Linked DNA regions of Homo sapiens: regions 1, 3 and 4 are each linked to region 2. The links are contacts of gene promoters, found by promoter capture Hi-C in blood cells and fetal thymus (Javierre and others, 2016). All regions are on one chromosome and are shown on one strand. Each heading gives the region's core, a stretch centred on a gene start or on the middle of the fragment in contact. The rest is flanking DNA. Distances are from core to core; before and after follow the strand shown.

Region 1 (2,793 bases), core at 49-2,548, 1.1 Mb before region 2:
TGGCAAAAGCACTTAGCTCATTCAACAGTTGTAACCTAGTAATTAGGATACATATGCTTTAATGCCACATTTTTCATATGTCGACTAAAGTGTTAAAACTCAGGAAGTTTGGATCCATTAGCTTTTTTTCACAATGTGTGGAACCTTTAGAATCGTGCATGTGACAACAGTGATCAGATGTGCCTGAGAAGAACACGTTTCTTTAATGGTCATGAAATTGATTTAGATCAACTTTTTGTTTTTGTTTGTTTGAAGTGAAATGGCATAACGGAAAATACTAACTTGCATCATAACAAGAGTATTGCTGATTTACAAAAGTCTTGTTTCAGCTGTATAATATACAGTATAGTACATGCATACTAGGTTATCATAAAAAAAAAAGTTTATAGCCACTGCTCAAGTAGATGGGTGATATGGTTTGTCTCTGTGTCCCCACCCAAATCTCATGTCAAATTGTAATCCTCAGTGTTGGAGGAGGGGCCTGATGGGAGGTGATTGAATCATGGGGGCGGACTCCCCTTGCTGTTCTCATAATAGTGAGTGACTTCTCATGAGATCTGGCTGTTTAAACGTATGTAACCCTTCCCCTTCGCTCTCTCTCTCCTGCTGTGCCATGTGAAGATGTGCCTGCTTCCCCTTTGTCTGCTGTGACTATAGGTTTCCTGAGGCCTCCCCAGCCATGCATCCTGTACAGCCTGTGGAACTGTGAGTCAATTAAACTTCTTTTCTTCATAAATTACCCAGTCTTAGGTAGTTTCTTATAGCAATGTGAGAACAGTCTAATGCAATGGCCCTCATTGCTTTGCTAGCAAGGGTATTCATGAAGTCTATTATGGGATTATAATGGAGAGGAGAAAAGAAAGCTAATCATCTTTGCATTCTATTTCTTCTCAAACTGCATGATATTTCAAACCCGAGAGCTGCTTTCCCCCTTCCCTCTCCCCCAAAGAAAAGGAGATGGTTAAAAAGGCTGAGGTGGGCGGATCACCTGAGGTCAGAAGTTCAAGACCAGCCTGGCCAACATGGTGAAAGCCTGTCTTTACTAAAAAAATACACAAATTAGCTGGGTGTGGTGGTGTGTGCCTGTATCCCCAGCTACTCAGGAGGCCAAGGCACGAGAATCACTTGAACCTGGGAAGCGGAGGTTGCAGTGAGCCAAGATTGCAGCACTGCACTCCAGCCTGGGTGACAAAGCAAGACTCTGTCTCAAAAAAAAAAAGGTAAAAGTTTAAAAAGAGTAAATAATATAGAAGGAATGAAAGAAATTTTGGAAAACAGATAATCTTTTGCCTATTCCAAAGTGCAGTAAAATAATTGCACTTAATATATCTAATCTGGATTTTAAAATCCTCCAAAAGCTGCCCTCCAACCCCCTCCCCACCTAACTTTTCCAACTTTATTTCCATATCCTCTCCTAAAGGAAGTCTTTGCTCTAGTCAGTTAAGCATAGGACACATGACATTGAGGACACAAGACATTGAGCAGTTTGTCTATGAAAAGCACTATGCAAGGGGCAATGAAGAATTCATTCAAGATGAAAAACTGGGGCCCTTAACTTCCCAGCCTTTACATGCTAATGGGTAGGCTAGACAAGAATAAATCACCCAAACCCCTGACAAACTATATAGAGAGTTATCAAGTGGTAAAATCATGCCGTAAAACTATAATGCAAGGAGTCATTGCTATCAGCTGGAGAGATCTTAGAAGGCTTCTTAGAAGAGATGAGACTAGAGTTGAATCTGGAAAGAAAAGTGGTATTCCCATGAAGCAGATAGAGAGAAAAGAATGTCCTGGGCTGAAGCATTAACTCTGGCAAAGATGAGAAGGCTAGAGAGTAAGGATCTTGTTAGGGTTTGTGAGAAGAACCAAAAGACTAAACTGTTAAAACCCAGCAAATTTGGATCCATTGGCCTTTTTTCTATTTTGTATTTTTTATTTTTTTATTATACTTTAAGTTCTGGGATACATGCACAGAACGCGCAGGTTTGTTACATAGGTATACATGTGCCATTGGCCTTTTTTCACAATGCATGGAACCATTAGGATGATCACATGGTGGCAGTGATAAGATGTGCCTGAGAAGAACATTCTGGAGGCAACATGGAGGATGAATTAAGGTAAAAAGAAACTGAAGGCAGAGACCAGTTAGAAAGCTACTGCAGTTCACTTAACTACTGCTTATGAGATTCTGAAATAGGGCTGTGGCTATGGCCATGAAAACGAGCATTCAAGAAATGCTGTGTATAGATTAGCAGAAAAGCCATCAGGGTTGCGAAGCAATAGAAAAATCAATTCAAACTGGCTTAAATGATAAAGGGCTTGCAAATCCAAAAAGGTTTAGAGCCATCAAATACAGCTCCAGCTTCATTTCTCTACTTTTCTCTCAACTCAGCCCAATTTTATGTCAGGCTAACTCCCTCATGATACCAAGATGGCTACCAGTAAAAATGGAAGCAATCACTCTTTTGTTTGCCTCTAGACGGAGATAGCTGTTGGTGCCCCCTGAACCTTGAAACTAAAGCCTCAGCTGAGGTGAGACTGGACCATTTTAGGAATATACTTGCCTTTGACTCAAATTATGTCATGACTGGTTTACATTCATCCCTAAGTAATTATGTTGCTGAGACTCAAATCTATCAAAGCCTACCCTTGGAGCTGAGTGAAGATTATCCTACATAATACCCAAGGCTTCTCAACTGGTGGGGAGGGAAGATGAGTGTTGAAGAGAAAGCTCAAGATTTTCCAAGCTTTCTTGGCATCTGTGCTACAATGCATTTGTTCTCAGATATTTCC
Region 2 (2,776 bases), core at 56-2,555:
TTAGTAAGGCCCATGTGGTAAGGAACTGTGGGTGGCTGCTAGGACCTGATGGCCACTTCCAGTTCAGAGCCAGTAAGAAGCCAGGGCCCCTAGTCAGACAGCCACAAGGAACTGAATGAGCTGACAGGAGTTTGGAATCAGATTCTTCCCTAGTTGAGCCTCCAGATGAGAATTGCAGTTTGGCTGACATCCACTTGTAGCCTTGTGAGAGCATGAGCACAGGACTCAGCTAACCTGTTCCTGACCTCCTTGCCCATGGAATGTGAGGCAATACATATGTGTTGCTTTAAGCCACTAAGACACTAAGACTGTGATAATTTGTTGTAAAGCAATTTTAAAAACCTGAATACCATGTGGTTAGGAAAAGTGCTACACTATTTATTAGTCAAAAGTCTTCAATTACTTTTCATTGTCTTTGGAATAAAGACCAAAAAGCTTATATGGCCACTAAAAGCCTCTTGTTATCTACATTATTCTATTTTTCCATGTTACTTTTTTATTACCTGGTCTAGGCCGAATGTGATGAAGTCTCTATCAACCCACAAGAGAGCTCCAGGGCATAGACTGCCTGTTAAAGGAGCCGCTCACGGAGCAGAAACAGCTAAGCCCTGATACCACATTTTCCCACTTCACCTACTTCACGTCCCTTGTATTTCTTCCAAATTTAACTTTCTATTTATTGCATATATTCATGTTTTACATTTCAATGCTGGTGACAAAGTTGTTTTCCTTTCCCAATTATTATTCCAAATCTGACCAATTTTTCTAGACTTCCATATGACCTAATGTGATTATCCTTCCTTACCCCAACCTAGAAATAATTCATCTCTTTTCTTCCTTGCTCCTTATTTGGCATTTCTCATCCTGCACTATACTATAGCTTATCTATCTTGGGGGACATTTGTCATTCTTTTTAGCTTTCCAGCATCCAACATACTTTCCAGTGTTTAGGGAATTCCCTACCTCTTGCATCTCAGTGGGAAGCAGTGTGATGGGGTCAGAAGTGTAAACTTGCGCAACATCCTGCTCCCAAGAAAGACGTGCACTTGCTACTTCATCCTTCGCTCCATCTTGGTCCTCCCAACTGGAGAGAGGACAGCCTAGACGAGACTTCCCACAACCAAGATGGCGGCCGTGCACTCCTTGCCCACAGCTGGCCTTTTCTCCACTTTCGGTCTCCATCGTAACGCGGCTGGCTCTCTCGGCGCCGGCTTAGGCCTTGCAAGTAGGGAAATGGTGAGTCTTTCCCGCCCCCTCATTTTTGCGACAGTTGCAGCGAAAGTCACGGCAGTTGGGGCTGGTGTCAGCTGATTTACTGCAGTGGCGGCGGCGGCGGCACCGGCACCTTGCAGTATCACTGGGGAGACGGCGGCTGTATAGCGCTTGCCGCCCCACGGATTATCCCAGCAGGATCTACGCACCCCGCATCCTCCGTAGTTCCGCCCTATCCTTGTCCTCCTTGGCTGGGGCGCCCACCGGCGGTCTGATAGGCTACATCGCGGCATGAGATGAAGCTGTGACAGGTAAGGGGGCTTTCAAGCTTCTCCATGGGAAACCACAGGGCGGGATGTTCCTGCACCGTGGAGGTCAGGGGTCAGGGGTCAAAGGTCACAAACCCGCTCTAGCCGGGGGCGGTGCTAGCTGTCAGATCGCTGCGGCTGCAAGCCTGCAGGTCGGGCCCAAAAGTAGGCGCCGTTACCAAGAGCGTGGGGGCCAGCCGGGGGTCTTTGTGGCTCCCTTGCCTGGTGAGTGATATTTGCTACTTGTGACAGTTGCTTTGGTCTTGAGGTGGGACTGCCTGGTTCCCAGGTGCAATCTAAACGGGATCAGGTGATTGGTGATGATCGTTGGTGGTTATTGACAGCAATTTTGGGCGATGTGCTTGCTTTTGGGGTTCATATAGTCTTTCCTTTCCTGTTGGTACTATTTTTGCCCATGCCCAAGGTACTGACACCACTGTTAGAATTTCATTTTTGAGATGCCATCTGCCAGTTCTTATCCCTTTGCCCTAGTACTTGTCTGAGCGGATGCCAGTCACTCCCATTCACTTAGTGATGGGTCCCAGCGTTCTGAAGCTATGTTTGAAGTCAGCACTACCCTAACTTTGATTCAAAAATTGCTGTTTTATGTTTTTTACCCACTTAGTATGTCACTTTTTGAGGCAGAATTTGCTGGGTTAGATAGTCTGAAACTAGGGAACCTACCGTCGCATGACAGGCTGCATTGATATTGTTGATGCTGCTGAATTTAGGGTTCGGTCAGTGGCAGCTATAGCTTCCTCTCACTGTAATATTTGCCATGAGACAAAAAAAGGCAAACTGACTCTTTCAGGTGTTTATGTCTTAGGATTTTATGGGCAAGGTTGCAGGAATTGCCTGTTGTATGAAAGAAATTAACTGAGTTTTTGACATTTTGTAAAACAAAAATTTTAGTTTGACTCTGCTTCTTGCTTTATAAACAAACTCGTGGCTGTATGAAGGTCAGCTTAAAAGTGAACATAATGTGTTGAAATGCCCTCATTATTACAAAGAATAAAAAACTGTCTAGTTCCATCCAGAACAATACATATTAGTTATTATAAATTGGGAAAACGAACCACTATAAATATAATTAATGCTTTATTATTAATGTCAATTAGGGATTATGGTAGAAAATTCATTTATTTTACTGCCAATCCTTATTTTAAGAGTGTTTCAGAGAAATACTTTAAGAGAAAAATGAGAGTATGCCCTTTATTTTTTCTTATTGCCACCTGTAACTAAATTTTAAAAGATCT
Region 3 (3,158 bases), core at 302-2,801, 1.1 Mb before region 2:
TAAGAAAAAACAAATAACCCAATAGAAAATGGGGGCGGGGTAGATTCCACAGAGTGGACATGAATGATCTGAAATAAATATATACAAAGTTGTTTAACCGAATTATCAAGGAAATGCAAATTAAGACCACAATGCGGCCCTGTGTGGTGGCTCATGCCTATAATCTCAGCACTTTGGGAAGCCAAGGAAGGCAAATTGCTTGAGCTCAGAAGTTCGAGACCAGCCCGGGCAACATGGTGAAACCCCTTCTCTACAAAAAATACAAAAATTAGCTGGGTGAGATGTGTGTGCCTGTGGTCCTGCTACCCGGGAGGCTGAGGCAAGAGGATAACTTGAGCCCAGAAAGTCGAGACCAGACAGTGAGCCGAGGTTGCAAAACTGCCCTCCAAGCCTGAGCAACAGAGTGAGATGTGAGACCCTGCCTCAAAAAAAAAAAAAAAAAAAGACTATAATGGGATACATTTTCTATTTTATACCAGTAGACTGCACCAATAGTAATCCTTTATGCTACAGGTGGGAGTGCAGATCAGTAAGAATCTTTAAAAAACAACTGGACACTATCCTGCCATGCTGGACTTTCATGTAACTCTACAAACCAACAATTCTACTCATAGATATCCACTCATATACCCCACAGAGAAAGTCTTACACATGTGCATCAAGAGAAACATACAAGAAAGTTTGTAGTTCCAAAAAAGAGGAACACAAAGGTTCATCAACTGGAACATGCATAAATAAACTACAACCTATTCATCAGCAGAGAAAATTAACATACACCACATGCAACAACATGGACAATAACATACCAAGTGAAAAAGCAAGTAGCACAAAACAATCTATCAGTTTTATAATCCTCCAAAACAAGCAAAACCAAACAACATACAGTATTGTTTAGGGATACATATGCCAGTCACAATACTACTTTAAAAAGGGCATGAGAATGTTTCTCTCTGGCAGGAAAGATAGGGGAAGGTGGACAGGGAACAAACCCACAGGCCGGCCAATGGATCTGACATTGCTCCAGTACTTATGTTGGTGGTGGGTTCATAGATGTTCACTCCATTATTAAGCTTCACAACTTACATTTGTTACACAGATTATTCTGTAGGTATCAAGTATTATAAGATAAAATATGTTTTCTAATATTTGCTTGGGGTTAAATTTTGAAGCATGCAGTAGCAGCCTGTGTAGAAAACACTTAACAAAAGTCTTGCTAGGAAGGAAGTCAAGAAAGAGGCTATGGCCAGAGGGGAATGTGAATGAGAGGTAGAGGGTGTTTTTTTTTTTGTTATTATATGTTTTGTTTTTAATTATGAAATAATTCAAGCATAAAGAAAACACACATCATAATTCAGCCTCCAACCCATCCCCAGCTCTGTCAATCTTAATATTCTATCATATTTTCTTTTCAAAAAAAAAAAAAAAGCATTGTAGATGCTGTTGAAACTCTCTGTGTCCCTCCCAAAAGAAAGGTAATTAATTATAGTTCATTTCGTTTTAACTAAGAGTTACTAAAGCATCCCTGGATGCTGAGAGGTACTCTCTAGGAGGCAGAAACAGGACCAAGCACTGCCCACTTATCTCCACACTATGCTACCAATTCACCTGCAGTGGGCATGTGCTTTCAGGAGTTTTTTGCTTGGTATAGACAGTTCTATGTTCGTCTTGTTTCAGCACCCTCGTTTGAAGGACACAAAGAGCTCTAGGGTCATAGAACCAACTCTCACTAACTGACACAGATATCAGGATCCAACCCATGCCCACAGTATTACCCCAAGTCTCTAACTAGCTGGTGTAACCAATAATGGAAAGAAAAAAAGTAATATTCTGTTCTTCAACTTCAACAGAGAATAATAGTGAAAGAATGGTGATATTTTTCCTAAAATGGACTAACAAGTATCCTGAGTTGGGAGGTGACTTCCAATAGTAAACAATAAAATAACTGAGAAAATGGAGTGAGGAGGGAGGGGAGAGAGAGAGGTGGTCAACAGAAGAGAGCCAAATGGAATGTTAGCCAGGATTTGTAAAAAGGGGAAGCTTCATTTTGTTCCTAATCAGGAGTTACCAGGTAATTTCCTCCCTGTGACAAAATGCAATCTAACAATACTGCTGCAATCCCAGATAGAATACCACATAAATTAAACCACTCTCCTAAAGTCCACCAACAAAGACATTCAGTAACTTCTGTGGCTGTGCTACCTGATACCTGACCACAGGCAGGAGAAGTGAATTCAATTCAACAGGTCTAACTAAACCATCATAATGTTTACTGCTCATAAGAACATAGGCTATAAAAAGCCTAAACAGGGCTAGGCTCGGTGGCTCACGCCTGTAATCCCAGCACTTTGGGAGGCCGAGGTGGGCAGATCACCTGAGGTCGGGAGTTCGAGACCAGTCTGACCAACACGGAGAAACCCTGTCTCTACTAAAAATACAAAATTAGCCAGGTGTGGTGGCACATGCTTGTAATTTCAACTACTGGGGAAGCTGAGGCAGGAGAATCACTTGAACTCGGGAGGCAGAGGTTGCAGTGAGCTGAGACCGCGCCATTGCACTCCAGCCTGGGCAATGAGAGCTTAACTCCGTCTCAAAAAAAAAAAGCCAAAATGGTACTGAAGACCATTCAATAAGACCCACTTCCACCCCTGTACCCTCGCAGAATTGCAAACTCAATCTAACTTTTCTCAGAAAATAAAAGAGCACTTCTCTAGTTAGTGCTTGGTTGCTAAAAAGGCAGTGGCTATCACACAGCTGAATTAGGTCTCATAATTACTGTCGGAATGTATAAAGTATGGTAGATTTTCAAGTATTAGAAAGTTATAGGAAGTTTCACCAAAAAAAAAAAAAAAAACAAGTAGCCACTATGAATGCTCCCCAATGACCTAAAGGTACAGATTTCAAATAAAGTCTACAAAGTTAATTCTCCAACTTTACCACCCACACTGTAGAACCAGCAACCCTGTCTCTCACCTAAACTTCTGCAAAAACTTCACAACTGGTGTGGGCCACCCACAGTGACTCCCCTTTGGGTCCATGTCCCAGACACAAATCTGATTAGCAGCACACTGTCAAGGCTCCCTGTGGCTCAGTCTTGCGGGATCTGACACCTACCAACCCCCACCAGCCACAGCGGCTGGAATCATGCCCTACCTGTCAGC
Region 4 (3,101 bases), core at 452-2,951, 1.2 Mb before region 2:
ATCCAAGGAAGTTAGTATATTATTTAGGTGCTACTTCTCAAGACTACATTTTCAAGTGAATCTTTTATTCTAAGTGGTTGTGTGGAGATGAATAGAGAAGCAAGGGTGTTAGAAATAAAATCATAACTATTGACACTGAAGAGTCAAAAGCTGCCTTTTAAAATCTAAGTTGATAAATATATCTGGTCACCTGTATCTACATATCCTGAGAACAAGAAACAATGCACCTTTCTATCAACAACTGATAAAGAACTGGGATTCCTGCTTGAGTTACAATGTTAAAACGTAAATATGAAATTTACTACTTTGAAGGCAAAAATAGCACAAAAATAAGAACATTCTATGACCAAAACCAACTTTGTGGTTCTCAAAGTTGGTAAGATACTCAAAGGCACGAACATATGATGTTACCCATTAAAAATAAGTTGCTAGTATTTATCTGCTTTGACTATTTTGTGTTAAATATCTGAAATCCATTTAGATGGATTTGATGGTGATTTTTCAAAGAATGCCTGAGATTCAAGGACCTGAAGTAACTGGTATAGCTTCCAAAGCTTAAAATCATGACATTCTTTAGAAGCATTTGCAGTTATGGTCTCAGAAAAATATAATCATCGCTGTGTGTGTTTCCTTGGAGTGTTGTCCAACAGATTGTACCAAGAAATTTAACTTCACTTATTGACAGATTCTCAAGAGAATTTGGCCAGGTTGAGAGATTTACTAATATTGTTAAGAACTCATGTTTACTAGAACAAAGATCTTTTTTTTTTTCAATCAAAACTAAAGTAGCCAGCTATTGGGACCTTTTAAGCCATTAGGAATCATCTTTTCATTGCTCAAGTTACTGCTGTTAAACAAACATCCCTACAGGGTAGCCAAAAGCAGAAAAACATGCTGAGGATGCCAGGATGAATGGCATGCCGGAGATTCACAGACAGCCTCAAACTAACAGGTAACTTGCTTTAATAAAGCAGGATGGGGTCTGCCTAGGCCATTAGCACTAAAGTTCATGCCTTGATAAATATACAATCAGATTTTACAATTCAACTTGAATGCACTACTCTGATTTAAGCACACTAAGCCCATTAACACCATTTATTTTCATAACCCCTTTAGCAGAAATCACAGTTAACACTGACTATATATCACTGCCAACCAACAAGCCCAGTGATATTTTTATTCTAAATATTCACCACTTTGACTTCATCTACCTTAACTTAGGAAACTACTGATACAACATTGAAACTGTGGTCCGTGCTTTAGGTCTAAGGAAAACAAAATTTCCACATAGATTCAGTATCACTAAAAGCATTTCATTCCATATGCTTGTAAAACTTAATCCTTAATGCACTATTACCAAACACAGACTGCCAATCCTCTCTGCAATTTAAGATTATTACAAGTGAACTGACTAAATATCCAAGTTTCTAAAAGCAGAACCTCTGTCTAGGACATGGTTTTACCTTCTATAGTAAAACTTGAGCATTCAAAAAGTGTAAGTTAATTTAAAATGGGTCTTACTTTGTATTCTGGAATTGACAAAAGGTGGAGAGAGATTGTCATGTGACCCAAGGTCCCTGCTGGTCATGTGGTCATAGGGAGTCCCATCTCCATAGTTCTGTAAATAAAATGACAGTGTAAGTTATTATTTTATATTAATAAACAGCACATAAACAAACATAGCTCCACTACCAAAACTTCTCCCCTCCAAAGAAATTGGAGTCCACTATTCCCTCCCTGGAACTTCACTAGAAGGAATCTGCACTTTCACAGGTATAGTGGCTAAAAGAAAGCTCTAGAGTCTACGAAGTCCAAATTTTCCTCATAATAGCTGAGAAATCTTAGGAATAATAATAATGGTATCAACTGCATGGAGTTGTTGACATGATTAAATAAAATAGTGTATGTAAGACACCAGACACATACAAAGTATATTGCTTATGTTAAAAATTATTATTTTAATAAGGCCACATTAAAGCAAAATTGTGCCACAAGGGAAAATTAGGCATAGCATGCAATGAATTGCTTTTCAAAGACCAAGATAGAGCCATTCAAACAATAACATTTGGTGTTAGGATACTGAAGTTTCAATGTTTTATTATAGTTACTATTGTGGTATTGTGGTTGTAAGAGAACTAGATTGTCACATAAGTAATTAACACATAAGAAAGTTAAGAATATTAGGGTTTAACTAGGATATGAACATCAAAACATTAGCATAAATTAGCATTTCTGGAGTTGGACAAAGCATGTCACAAAAAACAACCAGTTGTAAGGCAGACAAATTTTGACAGAAATATTTCATTATTACAATCAGCTTATTGTTTTAAGGGGAATTTAAAATTAAAACAATGTTCTTAAGCTGTCCAGTTACTTAATTTTAATGGGGAAATTTGATAACGCAATAGGAAAGAGTTAAAATCATCTATACTACATGGTTCAACTTTCAGTCTACTAAAGTGCATAAAGTGACCAAAAAGGGGGGAAAAAGTCATTCTGCTCAGCTGGTGGAACTGCCCATGAAAGTCTAAGTCAAATTTACTCAGAGGTATCGGTTGCATGTGAGCCAAAGGGCAAAATCTGCCCACACAAAAGAGAGGGCTGCTGCATGAACAAGGAAAAGACACATCCCCTCAACCTTAAGGAAAACTACCCCGTTCTCAATCACCTTTCCTCGTGTATAACAATTAACTTGCCTGATACTGTAATCTAATTCTGCCAACATGTCCATCTATAAAAAGAGGCTACATTTTAAATACCCATCATAGTACACTCACTCACTCTATACCAGGCATTGCATAATGCTAATTATCACTTATTAAGTGTCCTCATCCTAGATAGTGTACTAAAAGCTTAATATATATTATCTAATTTAATCCTCAGCACAGTGCTGTAAGGTAGACACTATCCCCATGTTAAGATGAAAAAAGAGAGACCTTGAAAGTACGCCTGGGTATAAATCTGCCACAAATGATTTGTCTCATGCAAACTTCTGGATTTAGAAAATATAAATTACACAAAATTGGTTTGAAATTATTCACCAATATATTCCTTGAGAAAAATGGCAGGACAGCTAACAAAAACCAAAAGCTAGTTAGTTT

What was found. Contacts are between HindIII fragments. The CHiCAGO score rates a contact against its expected background, and 5 or more counts as called.
Region 1: a contact is called between a fragment that was not itself captured here and the fragment with the promoter of WDR7 in region 2, in 2 of 17 cell types (monocytes and fetal thymus). The highest score is 8.6, in monocytes.
Region 3: a fragment that was not itself captured here is called in contact with the fragment with the promoter of WDR7 in region 2 in 1 of 17 cell types (monocytes); the score reaches 5.7 in monocytes.
Region 4: a contact is called between a fragment that was not itself captured here and the fragment with the promoter of WDR7 in region 2, in 1 of 17 cell types (monocytes). The highest score is 5.2, in monocytes.

Annotation. Positions count from the first base shown.
Region 1 is chr18:55,596,459-55,599,251 of GRCh38, forward strand. LOC105372126 (a long non-coding RNA gene) reads left to right here. Exons shown (of 3, transcript XR_935479.3): 2 at 622-705. It also overlaps a transcript of TCF4 not described here. Among named protein-coding and RNA genes, the nearest start is that of TCF4, 9.7 kb to the left of the region's middle. The HindIII fragment of the contact is 2,893 bases long and covers 1-2,745 here.
Region 2 is chr18:56,650,054-56,652,829 of GRCh38, forward strand. It overlaps WDR7 (WD repeat domain 7), which reads left to right and starts at 1,306. Exons shown (of 28, transcript NM_015285.3): 1 at 1,306-1,523. RefSeq lists an enhancer at 1,037-1,426. The HindIII fragment of the contact is 1,105 bases long and covers 434-1,538 here.
Region 3 is chr18:55,570,465-55,573,622 of GRCh38, forward strand. The region is part of intron 3 of TCF4 (transcription factor 4); the gene reads right to left. Among named protein-coding and RNA genes, the nearest start is that of TCF4, 16 kb to the right of the region's middle. The HindIII fragment of the contact is 967 bases long and covers 1,069-2,035 here.
Region 4 is chr18:55,459,498-55,462,598 of GRCh38, forward strand. TCF4 (transcription factor 4) reads right to left here. Exons shown (of 20, transcript NM_001083962.2): 5 at 1,522-1,618. The region is part of intron 1 of TCF4-AS1 (TCF4 antisense RNA 1); the gene reads left to right. Among named protein-coding and RNA genes, the nearest start is that of TCF4-AS1, 8.5 kb to the left of the region's middle. The HindIII fragment of the contact is 2,298 bases long and covers 553-2,850 here.